2 separate regions of the Homo sapiens genome follow, and region 1 is linked to region 2. The links are contacts of gene promoters, found by promoter capture Hi-C in human tissues and cell types (Jung and others, 2019). All regions are on one chromosome and are shown on one strand. The core of a region is centred on a gene start or on the middle of the fragment in contact, and the rest is flanking DNA. Distances in the headings are between cores, read along the strand shown. Region 1 overlaps WBP1L (WW domain binding protein 1 like). Region 2 holds the start of CYP17A1 (cytochrome P450 family 17 subfamily A member 1).

What was found. The method cuts DNA at HindIII sites, captures the fragments that hold promoters and counts their contacts. A contact is called where the count stands out against the background at its distance.
Region 1: a contact is called between a fragment that was not itself captured here and the fragment with the promoter of CYP17A1 in region 2, in 1 of the 25 tissues and cell types used here (bladder).

What each region holds. Positions count from the first base shown.
Region 1 is chr10:102,793,171-102,795,870 of GRCh38, reverse strand. All of the region lies in intron 1 of WBP1L (WW domain binding protein 1 like), which reads right to left. Among named protein-coding and RNA genes, the nearest start is that of CYP17A1-AS1, 38 kb to the left of the region's middle. The HindIII fragment of the contact is 6,115 bases long and covers 1-2,700 here.
Region 2 is chr10:102,836,009-102,838,708 of GRCh38, reverse strand. CYP17A1 (cytochrome P450 family 17 subfamily A member 1) reads left to right here and starts at 1,296. Exons shown (of 8, transcript NM_000102.4): 1 at 1,296-1,644. The coding sequence starts at 1,348. RefSeq lists a promoter at 1,057-1,336. The HindIII fragment of the contact is 7,169 bases long and covers 1-2,700 here.

The DNA of each region.
Region 1 (2,700 bases), core at 35-2,534, 43 kb after region 2:
TGCTACTTTGGCCAGAACACACACTCTTTGACTTCAGAGCAAAACATGCCTTTCATAAAAACATCAGAAAGTTTCTCCCCAGTTTACCAGGCCCTGCGAATGCCATTCTTCCGGCACTGGCTTAAAAGAGCACAGTTCAAAGTGTCCACATAGTTTCTAAAAGAGGCAGTGGTGCCTACACTTGGCACAAGAAAGAATCCAATGACACTTCTGTCTCAGGAAAATTCACCAGAGGCAGCCCAGGCTCGGAACACATGGCTGTCAACTGGTCTTAAGTGAGACATAGAGTGGAATGCATTTGAAATCTAAACAAGTGGCATCCTCATGACCTACTGCTGTCAGTCAGCTTTTCTCTCGGATCTTCTGTGCACCGAGGCAGGGGGCCTGGAATAAACAAGACCTCACTCTGCTTCACCGTTCTGCCTCCGCTTTCCCAGGGAGAGCAGAACAGTGGAAGCATCATTTAATCCAGTGTTCCTCAAACAGTTTTTAACACAGTACGGAAGTTTCTCGGCTTACGATGGGGTCATGTTCTGGTAAACCCATCATAAATTGAAAATATCGTCAGTCAAAAATGCATTTAACACAGTTAATCTACTGAACAGCATAGCTTAGCCTAGCTTACCTTAAACTGCTCGGAACTTACATCAGCCTATGGTTTGGTAAAATCCTCTAACACAAATTATTTTACAATAAAGTATTGAATATCTCATGTCATCTACTTAATACTGTATTAAAAATGAAAAACAAATGATTTCTACTGGCTGCATGTATCAATTGCACCACCATAAAGTTGAAAAATCACTAAGTTGAACCATCACAAGTTGTGGCCATCTATATATCTAGTCCCCTGTGGTCCTTCTCCCTCCTCTAAATACAGAGTCCCTGAGCTGCCTGGGATAGTCTTGGTTATGGGAACTGTCATTTTCTGCTGCAGCGGTACGAAAGAAGGTGTACCTCTAGCAAGGAAGAGGTGAAGGAGGATTCAGGAGATAGTGAGATATGAGTGCCAAAGTGAGTTCCTTCAGAGAGACATGCTGGTGTCAGTCAATAGTGGTATGGAAAACCCAGGAGCCTTGGGTTTGGCCCCAGCTCTCCTCGCACCCCCCTACTTTTTTCTTTTTCACTCAGAGTCTAACTGTTGCCCAGGCTGGAGTAGAGTGGCCTGATCACAGCTAACTGCAGCCTCGACCTCCAGGCTCAACTGATCCTCCTGCCTCAGCCTCCTGAGTAGCTGGGACTACAGGTGCACGCCACCACACCCGGCTAATTTTTGTAGATCCCAGCTCTATCACTACACAGAAATGAACTTTAGGCAAGTTACTCAATGGCCCTAGGTCTGGTTAAGATCACCTGTAATGTCTCCTTAAATTTTCTTTTGTGGGGGTGGGGAGGATGGAGTCTCACTCTGTTGCCCAAGCTGGTATGCAGTGGCGTGATTTTGACTCACTGCAACCTCCACCTCCCGGGTTCAAATGATTCTCCTGCCTCAGCCTCCCGAGTAGCTGGGATTACAGGCGTGAGCCACCACGCCCAGCCGTCTCCTTCAACTTTAAGGTTTTATTATCCTCCCCATCCCCTTTCCACCCTGACATAGCAGCCTCAAGCCAATGCAAGATATCATGAAATCTATGTCTCCTCTCATGCAAATCCACAGCAAAGAACAGTGGTGTGGAAATGCTGCCTGGTGATCTTCCACCCCTCCTTATATGAGGAGCCTAATTGTTGCACACCTAGGACTCAAACACCTCCCGGTGGCTTAAGATCTACACAAAGCCTAAGTAGTTAAGAGTTCGCTGGGGCCAGGTGTGGTGGGTCACGCCTATAATTTCAGCACTTTGGGAGGCCAAGGTGGGCAGATTACTGGAGCCCAGGAGTTTGAGACCAGCCTGGACATGGCAAAACCCCATCTCAACCAAAAAAATAATAATACAATTAGCTGGGTGTGATGTTGCACACCTGTAGTCCCAGCTACTTGGGAGGCTGAGGTGGGAGGACTGCTTGAGCCCAGAAGGTTGAGGCTGCAGCAAGCCATGATTGCACCACTGCACGCTAGCCTGGGTGACAGAGCCAGACCCTGTCTCAAAAAAAAAAAAGAGTGAGCTGGATCTGGGTTCAAAGCCCAGCTTTTACAGTAGGGCTATTAACTGTGTGACCTTGGGCTAATTAAATTCTCTGGGCTCCTACTATCAACATTATTCTGTGAGCCACTATTGCTGAGCATGAAAGACCATCCAAAAAGCACTTTGCCTTCACTCAGAATTGTTTCAGAACAGCCAAGTTCTCTGTGGCAATGTGGGCTGCTCCAGACACATGAAGAAGAAAAGAAAAAGGAACTGGAAAGAATGCAATGGAAAGGTCAAATATGAAAAATTATCAGCACCCTTTATGATTATCCTATGCTTTTACTATTTACGTATTTATTGGAGACAAGGTCTTGCTCTGTTGTCCAGGCTGGAGTACAGTGGCACGACTGTAGCTCACTACAGCCTCAAACTCCTGGGCTCACGTGATCCTTCTGCCTCAGCCTCCCGAGTAGCTAGGACTACAGGCATGTGCCACCATATCTGGCTTTTTTATTTTTACTTTTTTGGTAGAGGCAGGGTCTCACTATGTTGCTCAGGCAGATCTCAAACTCCTGGCCTTAAGCAATCGTCCCATCTTGGCCTCCCAAAGTGCTGGGGTTACAGGCATGAGCCA
Region 2 (2,700 bases), core at 47-2,546:
GACTGAGATACGCCCTGGTCTCCTGCAGTACCCTCAGGCTTACTAGGGTGGGGAAAAACTCCGCCCTGGTAAATTTGTGGTCAGACCGGTTCTCTGCTGTCGAACCCTGTTTGCTGTTGTTTAAGGTGTTTATCAAGACAGTATGTGCACCGCTGAACATAGACCCTCATCTGTAGTTCTGCTTTTGCCCTTTGCCTTGTGATCTTTGTTGGACCCTTATCAGTGGTTCTGCTTTTGCCCTTTGCCTTGTGATCTTTGTTGGACCCTTATCGGTAGTTCTGCTTTTGCCCTTTGTCCTTTCCCTCAGAAGCATGTGATCTTTGTTAGACACTTATTAGTAGTTCTGCTTTTCGCCCTTTGAAGCATGTGATCTTTGTACCTACTCCCTGTTCTTACACCCCCTCCCCTTTTTGAAACCCTTAATAAAAACTTGCTGGTTTGAGGCTCAGGTGGGTATCACAGTCCTACCGATATGTGATGCCACCCCCGGCGGCCCAGCTGTAAAATTCCTCTCTTTATACTGTCTCTCTTTATTTCTCAGCCGGCTGACACTTATAGAAAGAACCTACGTTGAAATATTGGGGGTGGGTTCCCCCAGTACGCTAGTCCTGCTGATGAGCAAAGAAGGTGTTGATGGCATTTTGATCAACAAGAAATGTTATGAAACGGCCTCCCACCTCTGGCATTCCTAGTACTGACCTATCTCTCCCTTCCCTTCCACCGCTCCCCACAGCTTAGCACCCCTTTCGTTCCCATACACATGTACATTTTTATTTTGGGGACCATTAACCCACAGCCCTTATCGCTGCCAAAACCACATGGGCTGGAGGGCCAGGGCTGCATGGACAGTCACACCACTGCACACCAGCCTGGTGATGGAGCAAGACTCTGAAAAAAAAAAAAAGAAGCATAAAAGACCTTTAACAGTCCCTGCTACTTGTGACCCTCCTGAATCTGTCATCTGTCCAGTGATTTTGATTTTGCAACATGGAAAGTTCCAAGCCTTGACTCCTGAGCCCAGATACCATTCGCACTCTGGAGTCATTCAAGCATGGGGAGCTCCTCAGAGGGTGATCAACTGACCTCCCTTACCTAGCTCCTCCTCCGGAGGTTTGCCCTGGAGTTGAGCCAGCCCTTGAGGAGGCCTTCACTCCCACCGCCTCTCTCCCTTCTGGATATGAGCTCAGGCCTGGCTGGGCTCCAGGAGAATCTTTCCACAAGGCAAGAGATAACACAAAGTCAAGGTGAAGATCAGGGTAGCCCTTTAAAAGGCCTCCTTGTGCCCTAGAGTTGCCACAGCTCTTCTACTCCACTGCTGTCTATCTTGCCTGCCGGCACCCAGCCACCATGTGGGAGCTCGTGGCTCTCTTGCTGCTTACCCTAGCTTATTTGTTTTGGCCCAAGAGAAGGTGCCCTGGTGCCAAGTACCCCAAGAGCCTCCTGTCCCTGCCCCTGGTGGGCAGCCTGCCATTCCTCCCCAGACACGGCCATATGCATAACAACTTCTTCAAGCTGCAGAAAAAATATGGCCCCATCTATTCGGTTCGTATGGGCACCAAGACTACAGTGATTGTCGGCCACCACCAGCTGGCCAAGGAGGTGCTTATTAAGAAGGGCAAGGACTTCTCTGGGCGGCCTCAAATGGTAAGTGGTGCCCATCTCCTCCCTGCCCCCTTCACCACCCCCTGGGATTGTTCAGGTCTTCAGACCATGCCTAGAATGGGGCTTCCAGCTCCAACAACCTGTAATTCTTCCCAAAGTAGACTAGTGGGATGATGTGAAGGGAGTGAACCTTCAGACCCCCACCCAGCCTCTAAATTAGGCAGGAAGAATTAAAGGAATGTCTCCTCTACCAGGCTGCCCAGGAGGTGGGATGGGAGGACCACAGTGGTCTGAGGGGTCAAGGAATCCTCACTCCACTCCTCTCTCTGAGCCTAGACTTCTCTAATGGACTGAGAAGGTGCATGTACAGCACTTAGCCTAGCACCCAGCACAGTAAGTGCCCCTTATACAGCCAGGATTCATGTTACTTTTCATGGAAAATGGGGGCAGTGACTACTGTCCTCCATGAAAGCTGCTGGGGAGAATTAGCCTAGCTATTGCAGGCTGGGATTGCTGCTTTCCTGGTGCTATTTCCAGCTACTCAGGCTCACAGGGGCAGTTTTCTACAATGACATTTCAGGGTTGCTGATGAGCCTCCCACTCAGCAGGGCCCCCAGCCTCTCAGCATTTTTTTTTTTTTTTTTTTTTTTTGAGACAGAGTCTCTCTCTGTCGCCCAGCCTGGAGTGCAGTGGCCAATCTCAGCTCACTGCAACCTCTGCCTCCCGGGTTCAAGTGATTCTCCTGCCTCAGCCTCCTGAGTACCTGGGACTACAGGAGCATGCCACCATGCCCGCTAATTTTTTGTATTTTTAGTAGAGATGGTGTTTCACCATGTTAGCCAGGATGGTCTCGATCTCCTGACCTCGTGATCCTCCCACCTTAGCCTCCCAAAGTGCTAGGATTATAGGCGTAAGCCACTGTGCCCTGCCAGCCTCTCAGCTTTGATCAAGCCAAGGGTTGGTTTATTTTTTCTTGGACCAATCAGCCAGGTCTGCTGACCAACTACCTAGCTCCCACCTCTGCTGGCTTCCTCCCGGGGGCAGAGAAGATGGAGAAGGCTAGTCATGTGGATCTTCAGGGTCAGGAAATGGAAAAGG